Linked DNA regions of Homo sapiens: region 1 is linked to region 2. Evidence: promoter capture Hi-C in human tissues and cell types (Jung and others, 2019). All regions are on one chromosome and are shown on one strand. Each heading gives the region's core, a stretch centred on a gene start or on the middle of the fragment in contact. The rest is flanking DNA. Distances are from core to core; before and after follow the strand shown. Region 1 has its middle 32 kb from the start of CD300LB. Region 2 holds the start of KIF19 (kinesin family member 19).

Evidence for each region. Contacts are between HindIII fragments. The study calls those that stand out against the background at their distance.
Region 1: a fragment that was not itself captured here is called in contact with the fragment with the promoter of KIF19 in region 2 in 2 of the 25 tissues and cell types used here (small bowel and stomach).

The regions. Positions count from the first base shown.
Region 1 is chr17:74,495,900-74,502,576 of GRCh38, reverse strand. No RefSeq gene overlaps it. Among named protein-coding and RNA genes, the nearest start is that of CD300LB, 32 kb to the left of the region's middle. The HindIII fragment of the contact is 5,799 bases long and covers 1-4,184 here.
Region 2 is chr17:74,321,802-74,329,024 of GRCh38, reverse strand. KIF19 (kinesin family member 19) reads right to left here and starts at 2,799. Exons shown (of 20, transcript NM_153209.4): 1 at 2,637-2,799; 2 at 520-600. The coding sequence starts at 2,675. RefSeq lists an enhancer at 1-634 and a silencer at 2,765-2,984. The HindIII fragment of the contact is 22,604 bases long and covers 1-7,223 here.

The sequences.
Region 1 (6,677 bases), core at 36-2,535, 180 kb before region 2:
ATTTACAAAGCACTCGGAGGAACTCAGTAAGATAGATTAAAAGCTCAATGGCAAAATGGGCAAATGGATAGTTCACAGGAAAAAAACTAAAATGGCAAATAAAGGAATGCAAATTCTGAAAATTATAAGATATTATTTTCTTCTATCAGATTGAAAAGAAAATAGAGTGTGAAAATATCCAATACTGGCGAGAGTGTAGGGAAAGGGACATCGTTGAGTGTTCTTGATGGGAAGGTAAGTGGGTGTAAGGTACATGGATGTGCTTTGGTCAAGAATAGGTTAGCCAGGTGCGGTGGCTCACGCCTGCAATCCTAACACTTTGGGAGGCTGAGGCGGGTGGATCACCAGAGGTCAGGTGTTTGAGACCAGCCTGGCCAACATGGTGAAACCCCATCTCTACTATAAATACAAAAAAAAAAAAAAAATAGCTGGGTGTGGTGGCTCGGGAGGCTGAGGCAGGAGAATCGCTTGAACCTGGGAGGCGGAGGTTACAGTAAGCCGAGATTGCACCATTGCACTCCAGCCTGGGCGACAGAGCGAAACTCCGTCTCAAAAAACAAAAACAAAAACAAAAACAAAACAGGCAGAGGCAAACATCAGGGCCAGCGTGACTCAGGGAGTCTGGCGCGCAGGCGCATAACTCCACTTGTTATGTAATCTGTTTGTGTAAGTGGCTCAGAGCCACTATTGTCTGTAAAAGGTATAACTGCCCTGCTGACGCTGTACATGTGGTTCGGCATGGCTTGTGCCCAGAGGCAGAGAGTAAAACTGCTGACCCCATAAGGGAGAGCCAGGCTTGTAGGCCAGGGAATGCAGCTGTAAGCCTGGGAATGGCAAGAGCCGCAAAGCTGGAGCAGGCAGCCGAGATAAAGGTGAATTGTATGAGAAAGCTTCTGATGAAACTATCACAAGGACAGAAAACCAAACACCGAATGTTCTCACTCATAGGTAGGAATCGAACAATGAGAACACTTGGACACAGGGTGGGGAACATCACACACCGGGGCCTGTCAAGGGGTGGGGGGCTGGGGGAGGGATAGCATTAGGAGAAATACCTAGTGTAAATGACGAGCTGATGGGTGCAGCAAACCAACATGGCACATATATACCTATGTAACAAACCTGCACATTGTACACATGTACCCTAGAACTTAAAGTATATAAAAAAAACTGCTGATGAAAAAGCTGCTGAATAAAACCATATTTTACCTGCCTACAGCCCCCTAAATATTCCTTCCGCTATTCGCCACCCATCCACCCACTCCCCTCAGACCTCAACATGGGCTGGAACCTGACGCTTGGCATGACAGTGGGCAAGAGCTTTTTGAAGGAAAATTTGTCAAGATCTATTAAAAAAAAGTCAATTCATGGACCTTTTGACTAATGCTCCACTATTGGAAATTTCTCCTAAAGATATACTCAGATAGGCCAGGCGTGGTGGCTCACGCCTGTAATCCCAGCACTTTGGGAGGCTGAAGTGGGCAGATCACGAGGTCAGGAGATCGAGACCAGCCTGGCCAACACGGTGAAACCCCATCTCTACTAAAAATACAAAAATTAGCTGGGTGTGGTGGTGCACGCCTGTAGTCCCAGCTACTTGGGAGGCTGAGGCAGAAGAATCGCTTGAACCCGGGAGACAGAGGTTGCAGTGAGCCAAGATCACACCACTGCACTCCAGCCTGGGCAACAGAGCAAGACTCTGTCTCAAAAAAAAAAAAAAAAAAAAAAAAAAAAGATATACTCAGATATATACCAAGATACAGGTACAAAAATACAAAAACATGGTCTGGGATGACATAACAATGTGTGCATCTGTGCATGTGTATACACACGCAGTCATACATGGGGCCTTGTATGACACACAGATACATCGGCATGCATTGTGCACCTACAGCTCCAGTCCCTCCCCCAGCGCCTGACTCATACAGCCAATAGGGGGCTTGTCATCTTTATTTGAGCATCTGTACGCCCAACAGAGTCCCTGTTTCCTCTCCCCAATTCCACCCCAAAACTGCTGCTCTCTTAGTCTTTCCATTTCCGTAAAGGGACCCACCTTTACTGCCCTCCCAATTGCTCAAGTGAAAACCGTAGAAGTCACCTGCAATTTTTATTCCTTTCTTTTCACTCCCTCCCACATCCAATCCTTCAGCCTGTTGGGTTGGCTCTACGGCCAGAATGCATTCTGAGCTTGTCCACCTTCTCCAATGGCCACATCCACCACCCCATTCCAAGGTGCCATTGTGTGACTCCCTTGCTTGAAATTTTTCAGAGTTTCCACTTAGGACAAAATCCACACATTTGCGTATTAACCCTTCCCTGATCTGACCACTGCCTGCCTCTGCCTTTCTGCGTCTGCCTCCCACCAAGCTCCCCACATTGTCTACTCTGTACTCATCTGGCCGGCACCCTAAGCCTGGGACACACTAGCCTTGTTCCCCCTTAGAGCCTTTGCCTGAGCTGTTTCCTCTGCCAGGAATGCTCTCACTCTATATTATTGTGTGGCTGGCTCCTTCTCAAGTCTCAGCTCAAATGTCAGGAAGTCCCTCCATGACCTCCCTATGCAAGCAGCCCTTCCTGCCTCTCATCACTCTCAGCTGTACACAATTCAGATCTTCACACAGCAGTTCTGTGATGATCTGAACGAAGCTTGCTTTTGTTTTGTTTGTTCTGTCTACTGCCCACTAAGATACAAGGACCAGACAGAAGGGGCCTCATTTATCTTCTTCACTGCTATGTCTCTGCTGTATAGCTCCATGGTATATAGTAGGTATTCAATAAAAGTCATCAAGTAAATGAGTAAATAACGGAATGAATTAAAACTGTGGAATCACATATAAAAGAATGAGGTAGATTTGTGTGTACTTGTATAACAAGGTCTCTAGGACATATGCAAAAGTGAGGTATGAAGAATTATGAGCCCCTCCCCCCACTTTTTTTGGAGATGGAGTCTTGCTGTGTCGCCCATGCTGGAGTGCAGTGGCGCGATCTTGACTCGCTGCAACCTCTGCCTCCTGAGCTCAAGCGATTCTCCTTCCTCAGCCTCCCAAGTAGCTGGGATTACAGGTGTGTGTCACCACACTTGGCTAATTTTGTATTTTTAGTAGAGACAGGGTTTCACCAAGTTGGCCAGGCTGGTCTTGAACTCCTGACCTCAGGTGATCCGCCTGCCTCGGCCTCCCAAAGTGCTGGGATTACAAATGTGAACCACTGCGCCTGGATTAGCCCTTTTGAAAATAATTTTGAAATAATAATAAGTTTTCTGAAAGCTGTGTAAGAAATGGCTAACAGTAGTCACTTTTGTGGAATGGTACTAGGGGTAGGGTAGGAGGAAGGAGACTTTTTTGTTAATTTTATAACTTCCTGTACTGTTTTAATTTTCTGTCCATTGCACATGGGTTTAAAATTTTTTTTTTTTTTTGTCCTGAGATGGAGTCTTGCTCTGTCACCCAGGTTGGAGTGCAATGGCGCGATCTCGGCTCACTGCAACCTCTGCCTCCCAGGTGCAAGCAATTCTCCTGCCTCAGCCTCCCCAGTAGCTGGGATTATGGGAGCTTGCCACCGCGCCTGGCTAATTAAATAATTTTTACTTTTCTTTTTGTGTGTGTGTTAAGAGACATCATCTGGATATGGAACGATACACACTTTTCTGAATTAATGTTATTCTTTTTGTTGTTATTGTTGATTGTTTGTTTTTGAGATGGAGTCTCGCTCTGTCACCCAGGCTGGAGTGCAGCGGCATGATCTTGGCTCACTGCAACCTCCGCCTCCTGGGCTCAAGCGATTCTCCTGCCTCAGCCTCACGAGTAGCTGGGATTACAGGCATGCACCACCATGCCTGGCTAACTTTTTGTATTTTTAGTAGAGACGGGGTTTCACCATGTTGTCCAGGCTGGTCTCAAACTCCTGGCCTCAAGTGATCTGCCTGCCTTGGCCTCTCAAAGTGCCAGGATTACAGACGTGAGCCACAGAACCCGGCCAGAATTAATGGTATTTATTTAAAAGCAATGAGAACTATTTATTTGTAATTGGCAGAAGTTTAAATCATTTTTTTAAAGGCACCATTCCCAATGTTGGCCATGGGATATGCTGAAGGATATTTCCATACCAGGCTGATAGGAGAATAAATTGCACCCAAATCCTATCGAATATACTACCCCTGGGCCGAGACATTTCTAAGAGTGTATCCTAAAGAAATAATTATGTGCAAGAATGGTCACATAATTGGTTATAATAGCAAGAAACTAGAAACATCCTAAATCCCCAACAGTAAAGATATGGTTAAATAAATTACATTACATCCATAAAAGGAACATGATACAAATTTTAAGAGTATATGTTATTTGAACCCATATTTTATAAGGAAAAAATGTAGATATATGAACATTGTTATTTTCTTCTTTTTGTCTGTATTTTCTAACTTTTTTTTTTACAACAAATAGATCTTTTTTCTGTAGTTAATATAAAAAAAATTTTTTTTTTTTTTTTGAGATCGAGTCCAGTGTGTCACCCAGGCTGGAGTGCAGTGGTGTGATCTTGGCTCACTGCAACCTCCGTCTCCTGGGTTCAAACAATTCTCCTGCCTCAGCCTCCTGAGTAGCTGGGATTATAGGCATGCGCCACCACGCCTGGCTAATTTTTGTATTCTTAGTAGAGGCAGGGTTTCACCACGTTGGCCAGGCTGGTCTCGAACTCCGGACCTCAGGTGATCTGCCTGCCTCAGACTCCCAAAGTGCTGGGATTATAGGCGTGAGCCACCACGCCTGGCCTAAAAAAAAACTTTTAATGGCTTCTAAATTGTTTGCAAAATGAAATTGAAGCCTGTCAGTGAAGCTGATGTTCTGTGAGCTGGCCTCTCCCTCCGCCCTCACTTCCCACCACTCGAGGCCTCCCCTTTCTGCTCCAACAGGAAGGAGTGGCCAGCTCTTCCTCCCCAGGCCCTGCCTCATCCAAACCTCTTGCCATGCACTTTGCTTTAGAGGCACCCGGCTTGCTTATCTTGTAAGACTCCATCCACCATCCAAGAGCCATTTTCAGGAAGCTACACAGGTGCCTACTTGCCCTCCACCACAGTGGGATGTGCCTGTCCTGCCTGCTCCCAGGACTCCTTGACTTTCTCTATCATTGTAACTCAGGACATTTTGTAGTAACATTTTGACACTTAATGTTATCAGGCTCCCCAACTGGTCTCCAAGCTCCTTCTAGACTGTGTCCCCATATAGGAAAAATATCATACATATTCGTTACTGGATGGATGGATGGATGGATGAATGGATGACTTGGTTCTTCTTCTAACCACTATTCCTGGTCCTGGCTTCCTGATAGTAACCACATGATTAGTTGGGTCCACGTACCTCTGATTCAAAATGTCTAAATAGGTTATTTATTCATAAATTTTTAAAAAATCAGAATGGGGTCAGGTGCAGTGACTCACACCTGTAATCCCAGCAATTTGGGAGGCTGAGGTGGGAGTTACTTAAACCCAAGAGATCAAGACCAGCCTGGGCAACATAGTGAGACCCTGTCTCTACAAAACAAAACAAAACAAAACAAAACAAAACAAAACAAAACCACACATACATACACAAAGCAAAAGCAAAAAAATTAGCTGGGCATGGTGGTATGTGCCTGTAGTCCCAGCTACTTGGGAGGCTGAGGTGGGAGAATTGCTTGAGCCTAGGAGGTTGTGGTTGCAGTGAGCTATGATTGCACCACTACACTCAAGCTTGAGCAAGAGAGTGAAAACCTGTCTCAAAAAATAAAAATAAAAATTTTTAAGTTGAAAAAAATCAGAATGGGAATTAGTTGAGAAGATTCAAAGCAACATTCTACATAAATTCCATATAAGACTGCCAAATAAAGAGGTAGACATTAGATTCTCCTAAGGGAAATGTGAAATCCAGAGGCTAAGGAGAAAGTTCCAGTTGACACCGTGTTGATTATGGAGTTTCAGCTCTCTCGTCATGAAGCTCCCCCTCCTCCCCTCACACTCCAAGGTTTTCCTGAGGCTCTGAGAGGCCAGCTACAGTCTCAGTGGGGATGAAGCTGCTTCTACTTCGTTTGTGATGGGAGTGAAAATGGCCCCAAAATCCCATTTCCCAGAGCTCTTTCTCTGACACTTGTAGAGAATCTTATGCAGAACTTTCTCCTGACCCCATGTCCTTTGGGTCAGCTGATGGCCTGTGAGATTGATAATCTAGCAAGTTTGGACATTCGTGACACTCTTGCTAACCCAGGTACGGAATGCTTAGAGAGGGAGTTTTCTGATCCTGTTCTGCTTCTGTGGAAGGCAGAGCAGCTTAGCCCATTGATATTCTGCAGGTGACTTTGATCTTGAATTCAGTTAATTGTGTGTCAGGTGATTACCCACACCTGTCAGTCAAAGCGCCCTGCTCCTTCCTCATAACCCATCATCCCTTTTGTTTCCTGGCATTCCAGATTCTTCCACTGCACACATTAACTCACAGACAGATGCCAGCATCGTGCTTCACCATATATATATATATATATATTTTTTTTTTCCTGAGATAGAGTCTCACTCTGTTGCCCAGGCTGGAGTGCAATGGTGCAATCTCAGCTCACTAAAACCTCTGCCTCCCAGGTTCACACGATTCTCCTGCCTCAGCCTCCCAAGTAGCTGGGATTATAGGCACGCACCACCCCAGCTAATTTTTGTATTT
Region 2 (7,223 bases), core at 1,550-4,049:
ATGGAGAGAGGACAGGGCCTTTTCTGTTCACCACAGTTTCCCAGTTTCTAGAACAGTACCCAGCATGCTGCTGGTACTTGATACACACTTATTGCCTCGTGTGCCCTGCCTTCCTCATCCTGGTGACATGAGGACCAAGATTGCAAACAGAGAGCGAGGATTTTGCCACACGTTACACCCTAGAGGCGAGCTTTAGCTCTCAACCATATATATATGTGCTCTGTGGGCAGCAGGCATATTAGGGTGGGAAAGTCAAGCAATGAGCATGTGAAAGGTAAAGGATCAGGGCCCACCCAGGCTAGGGAAGCTCCCAGTTGTCCTTGGATCAATCTAGGAAGGCTTCCTGGAAGAAGAGCCCCCAGCTTCCTTGGTGATGTCATCAACAGCACAGCCAAGAGTTCAGTGAGTAGAGGAAGGAGGGTGCTGCAAGCCACAGGGGCCCTTTCTGCCCTCACCAGGTGAGCTGAGCCATCTGAGCAGACCTCTGCCCTGCAGCTCCTGCTGCAGAGCCCTGCATACCTGCTCATCCACTTTATGGGCGATGAGGGTAGCTCCTTCCTCCAGCTCTGCCACGCTGATGGGCCGGACCCGAAGCGCCACCTGGGAGGGAAAACCAAGCCCCTGGGATTAGAGGGAGAGGACCATGCTGGGCCTCAGAGAGACCTCAAGCAAGCCCCTGGCTTCTCTAGCATTCAGCCATCTCAGGCCTCCCTTGTCCTAAGTAAAACTCTACCTAGGTCAGAGGGCAGCAGGTCCACAGAGTGTTGGACTGTGTCTGAGTTGATGAGTCTCCCCAGGAGCCCTGGCCTCCGGGAGAGCCCCAGGGGAGAGAGCTGTCTGCTCCTCCAGCCTGCCTCAGCCTCACGCCCAAATAAAACACTCGCAGCTCCCCTGGGCTTGAACTTGGGGCCCTGGCACTGGAGCAGCCTCTCTGTGTTTCCGCGAATGACGTGCTGCAGAGGAAGGTGCAGGCACGGCTCTGGGATGAGGCCTGGTAGGTGGGATGGAGCAGGGAATGTCCCCCATCATCCCAACAGCCTGTGACCACATTCCTACACCGAGGAGAGTGTCACCTAGAGCGCCCACCCCCATCTGCCTGTCCTCCAGCCAGTGTGAAATGGGTCTCATCCTGTGCGTGGATCTCCCTAAAGAACAGGGTGGAGTGGGGAGCACGTCTTGTGCTGATCAAAGGGCAACAGCTGCTGGGTGTGGGGATAGAATGAACGGCCCTCTGGCCGAGTGAAGACTCCTTCAGGCCTGGCGTGGTGGCTCACGCCTGTAATCCCAGCACTTTAGGAGGCCGAGGTGGGCGGATCCTGAGGTCAGGAGTTCGAGACCAGCCTGGCCAACACGGCGAAACACCGTCTCTACTAAAAATACAAAAATTAGCTGGGCGTGGTGGTGCATGCCTGTTATCCCAGCTACTCGGGAGGCTGAAGCAGGAGAATCGCTTGAACTTGAGGGGCAGTGAGCTGAGATCGCACCACTTCACTCCAGCCTGGGTGAGAAAGTGAAACTCCGTCTCAAAAAAGAAAAACAAAACAAAACAAAACAAAAGGCACTTTCAGAGGGAACTACACTACCTGACGGGTCACCTTTAGTGGCATCTTCAGCCAAATTCCACTGGCGGGAGGGGAGGACCCTTCATCCCTGCTCCCCGGGGCACACAATACATGCCAAGGCCAGTGATTTTCAAAGAGACACATTCTAAAAAGCCAGAGAGGATGTCCTAGAGCCCAGGGCTTGCTTGGGGGCTGGAGCTGAGGCTCCTTTCAGAGAAGCAAGCCCACCCTTGAGAGGTAGGGGACTCTGGGAGCAACATTATCCTCCAGTTACCTTACTGCCCACCTTCTGGTGATGAGGGCCCTTCCCCAGACCTCAAAAATTAGGGGATGAGGAAGGGGCTTGCTGAGAGAGACACCCACCCACCCACAGCCTAGTGGTGGCCTCGAGGTCACTGAGTCATCTCCCTTGTTGCTCTGGCCCAGGCACCACTGATGATCAGGAATTCCACCTTCCCCTCCACAGCCCCCACTCTCACCTCCCCATCTGTCCCAGGCCCCAGGGCTCTGTGGGGCCATGGTAGCTGCATCTAGCACTTCTCTGAACTACTTCGAATCCGGACTTGGGCAGCATCCGTGTTGCAGCCCAAGAACCAGGCACTCCGGGCCCCATCCTGACACCAGGGGCCCTTGTCTTCCTACTGGTGACCCCCACATCCCTTTAAACTCCTGACCTCACCAGGGCTGGAGCAGCCTCTGATTAACTGGGAAACCGCCACCCTCCTTCTGGGGGCAGTTAGGTCAAGCCCTCCCTGCCCCTGGCGTTTCTGGATGAGAGAGCCGAGATTCATCTGCGCACGCTTTGGGGGCGGGATCTCCCAATGGGAGGGTGGAAAGGTGGGGGTGGGGTTGAAGTTGGGGTAATTTTCAGGCTCAGGAAAGTCTAAAAAGGCCATGGTCCCTTCTTGACACCCATCCTGCAGGACTTGGGGAAAGTTGCTCTGAAGAGTCCCGGCCCTGGTCGTTGCCTGTCCTCTCAGTGGGGTGGCGGCGAGGGGACAGGACTCTGTCGCTGGAGGCCGACTGAAGTAGACCACGGAGCGGGGTGGGGAGGAGGGTCTAAAAGGGTCTCACCATGAGTTGCTGGTCCTTGGAGTCCCCGCTGTCCTTCATGATTGCAGCAGGTGGAGGGGCTCAGGCCGCGCCACCGGGCATGGCTCAGCCGCACCCCCACCGCCTCCGGGTCGCGTCCGCCAGCTGCTAGCTGCCCGCCGCCTCGCGCGCTGCCTGACAACCCGAAACCAACAACGCGCCAGCGGCTAAGGACGCCGACCCGAGGCGGGGCAGGGGGAGGGCCCGGACGGCGCCGCCCCGCCCCCGGCGCCCGCCCCTCCCCGCGCTGAGGGTGAGAGTTGGCCGCCTCCGCCGAGGAGGCCCCCGAGCCTGAACCGCTGCGCGACGATGTGTGCCCGGCTGTGCGGCCCTGCGGCCCTCGGTGCGTCCGTGCGTCCGCCTGGCGCCTCCGTGTCAGTTCGCTAACTCCTGCGCGCCCACCCGCGCCCCTCTGCTCGCGGCGCGACCCCGTGCCACTGCCCTTTAGGGAGCGCCCCAGCAGCCACGCTGCCCCTTGAAGCACACGCATCTGCCGCTGTCTCTGGGGTCTCCAGGGCGGCGGCTGGCAGCCTCGGGTTTCCGTGGGCGCCGCGTGCATCGCAGCAGGTGCCTGTGCTGTGAGTGTCTGCACCCACTGCCCACTGGCATGGGTGGCAAAAAGTTGTCCCTTTGCTCAGGCCGCCCAGCACCTCTGTTACCTGGGGTGTGCTACAGAAGAGCCTGACTCAGTGCGACCCACTAGCAAACAAGTCTCTACCCCTGAACCCAGAATCTAGGTCACGATGGCTGGGTCCGTGTGCCCTGCTGGCTCCCCGCCTGCTGCTGGAAGAGCCACAATACTGTGCAAGAAAGTCTAGGTCTGACGCTACCGCCTCCATTCTTGGCGACAATAACAACGGTTGCACTCCCAGGGAACACAGGGGAAAGGTTCCTGTCCTCAGGAGGCCCTGGGAAAACTTGGATTCTGGTCCCAGTTCCGCCTCCAACTCGGCCAGCCACCTGGAGCTGGTTTTTCCTGCCTCCCTGGGGCCTCAGTTTCCTGGGGGATGTTGGAGCCTCTCCCAATTCTGATGTCCATCCTCTGTGTCCTCTGCCCCCACCGAAGCTGAGCCCGGCAGCCCCAAGACTGGGAGAGGAAGCCACGATGGGTTTCACTTTCCAGGGAAGGGGCTGGGAAAGGAAGCACTCATGTCCCCAGGGCTGCCTCAGACTGCCTGGGGTCCCTCAGAGGCAGAGTGTGATGCCAGCCTGTGCCCTGGGACTGGCTTCCCCGGCTGCCCCTGAGGAGCCTGTGTTGGGAATCGTTATTAATAAACAGCAGCAAGAAGCAGCCGTCAGCCTTGGGTTTAATAAATAGATAAACCAAGTAAAACTTGGTGGAAACCAAACTCTCCTGCCCGGGATCCCAGGTTTTGTCCTGTTCCTTGGCCTAGGCTGTAGGCTGGACAGTTTGCAAATGGGCATACTGTGACAAGAATCGGGTCGGGTTTTTTGTTTTTGTTTCTGTTTTTTTATGACAGAGTTTCACTCTGTCACCCAGGCCGGAGTGCAGAAGCACAATGGCACGATCATGGATGGCTCACTGCAGCCTCAATCCCTCAGGCTCAAGTGATCCTCCTGCCTCAGCCTCACAAGTAGTTGAGACTACAGGTGCGCACCACCACGCCTGGCTAACATTTTGTATTTTGTAGAGACAGGGATCTCACTGTGCTGTCCAGGCTGGTTTTGAACTCCTGGACTCAAGCAATCCTCCCACCTCAGCCTCTCGAAAGAGAATCGGGTAAGTTTTAGGGGTGTGTTGTGCTTGCATTTTAGGCTCCTGAAAAGAACCTATTTGGATCAATCAAACAGGCCCCTGGTCAACTGGGCTGTCACTATTTTTCTTTTTCTTTTCTGTTCCTCCACATGCATCAGTCCCACCCAGAATGCCCCATAGTTATTTTTGTTTTTGTGGGGTGTTTTTTGTTTTTGTTTTTGTATTTTTGAGACAAGGTCTTTCTCTCTTTCTCTTTTTTTTTCTTCTGCCTCCCCACCCCTCAAGACAGGGTCTCACTCTGTGGCCCAGGCTAGAGTGCAGTGGTGCCATCACAGCTCACTGTAGCCTCAACCTCCTGGGCTCAAGCGATTCTCCTAACTCAGCCTTGGGAGTAGCTGGGACAACAGGCGCATGCCATCACGCCTGGCTCATTTTTTTTTTTTAATTGTTGTAGAGGCAGGGTCTCAAACTCCTGAGCTCAAGCAATCCTCCTGCCTCAGACTCCCAAAGTGCTGGGATTACAAATGTGAGCCACTGCGCTGGGCCTATAGCGATTGATGGGTAAAAATAAGAAGCTTCTTGGCTGGGCGCAGTGGCTCATGCCTGTAATCCCAGCAGTTTGGGAGGCAAAGGCGGGCAGATCAGTTGAGGTCAGGAGTTCAAGACCAGCCTGTCCAAATGGTGAAACCCCGTCTCTACTAAAAATACAAAAATTAGCCAGGCATGGTGGCAGGCACCTGTAATCCCACCTACTCGGGAGGCCGAGGCAGGAGAATTGCTTGAGCCCAGGTGACAGAGGTTGCAGTGAGCTGAGATCGTGCCATTGCACTCCAGTCTGGGCGTCAGAGTGAGACTCCATCTCAAGAATAAATAAATAAATACATAAATAAATAAGAAGCTCCTAAGTAACAAGTCCCCACCCATCTTACACGAAGACTCATCACAAAGTCAGGTATATTCTCAAACAATGTCCTCTGCCTGACTTTTGGGTTTTGTCAATTAAACCACCATCCCCTTTATTTTATTTTATTTATTTATTTATTTTGAGACGGAGTCTTGCTCTTTCGCCCAGGCTGGAGTGCAGTGGTGCGATCTTGGCTCACTGCAAGCTCCGCCTCGCGGGTTCACGCCATTCTCCTGCCTCAGCCTCCCGAGTAGCTGGGACTACAGGCGCCCGCCACCACGCCCGGCTAATTTTTTGTATTTTTGGTAGAGACGGGGTTTCACCGTGTTAGCCAGAATGGTCTCGATCTCCTGACCTCATGGTCCACCCGCCTCAGCCTCCCAAAGTGCTGGGATTCTAGGTGTGAGCCACCGCGCCCGGCCCACCATCCCCTTTATACCCATTGCCTTTAAGGCATTTTTTACCGCATCTTTTTTTCTCATCTTCTACATTCAACTCCTGCAGATTCTACTTCTGCAAATATTTCTTCTCTTCATCGTCTCTTGCCATTCCCTGGGCTCCAGTTTTTACCCCTTCTCACCTGGACCATGTCATGGCCTCTTGCTATGCCCTGGCCCCACCGTTTTTGTTGTTGTTATTTGTTTGTTTTTTGAGATGAAGTCTAGCTCTGTCGCTCAGGCTGGAGTGCAATGGCGCAATCTTGGTTCACTGTAATCTCCGCCTTCCGGATTCAAGCGATTCTCCTGCCTCAGCCTCCCAAGTAGCTGGGATTACAAGCACCCACCATCACGCCTGACTAATTTTTGTATTTTTAGTAGAGACGAGGTTTCACCATGTTGGCCAGGTTGGTCTCGAACTCCGGACCTCAGGTGATCCACCTGCCTTGGCCTCCCAAAGTGCTGGGATTACAGGTGTGAGCCACCGTGCCTGGCCCCAGCCCCACTTTTGAAAGGGGAAGAGATCTGTCAGGCAGAGATCTTTGAAAGGGGAGCGATCTGACAGGCAGAGACCTCCTGTGTTCTCTAACACAGAAGTAAAGGCAGACACTTTACTCTCCACAACCCCTTTCAGCCTCCTGCCCGGCTTCATTTAAACTCATTCTGCTCTGTGGGCTCGGCCTTCCACTCACCTTCACCACTTGCTTATTCCCAAATGTATGCTAGAGCCAGGTCCTACACTGGGGCCTTTGCTCATGCCAGTCCTCCAACCTGGTACACCCTTTCCAGCTTACCTCTGTCAAATTTCTCGTCATCCTCCATATCAGACCCCTCCTCTCCTGGTCCACAGAACTCTCATTATGCCCTGACAGAGCCTGAATCAAAGTAAGCCCTGCACGGGCAGAGACCCAGGCACTTGATGTATGCTCAGTCCATGCGCTCTGCATCCTGGTCCTGCCCTGGAACCCGTTTCTGTCCCTCCTCTCCACTCCCATCACTGCTGCCTGCAGCCTGGGACTTCAGTTTCTCATCTGGATGACCACGTACACTGCGTGGTCTCTTTGCCTCCAGTTTGACTCCATTCCCTCACTGCTCTAGGACAGATGGGTGTCGTGACCTTACTTGAAATCCTGCCATGGTGCCCCATTGCCTTCTGTTTGGGGTCGGCTCTTTAGCCTGTAGTTGCAGCCTTCCCTGCCTCTTCTTGGCTCGTCCCCTTCTACCACCCTTGCTCTGGCCGTGCTCAACCAAGTGCAGTCCTCTGCGTGAGCAGCTCTTCTCTCCTCTCTGGGCTTTGTTCCTGCCACTCTGTCCTGGAGTTCCATTTCCACTTATCTATCTGGCTAACTCCTTCTTCCAAGCTCATCTTATGTGTCACCTCCCCTTTCCTTGGGGGAACTGCCTCTTCTCTAGTCCATGTCATTCTGATGGAGCCCATCACAGCATCCTGTTCCACTCCCAGCCATGGCAGAAGGCATGCAACCCAGACTTGACTGTGGTCACAGTGATTG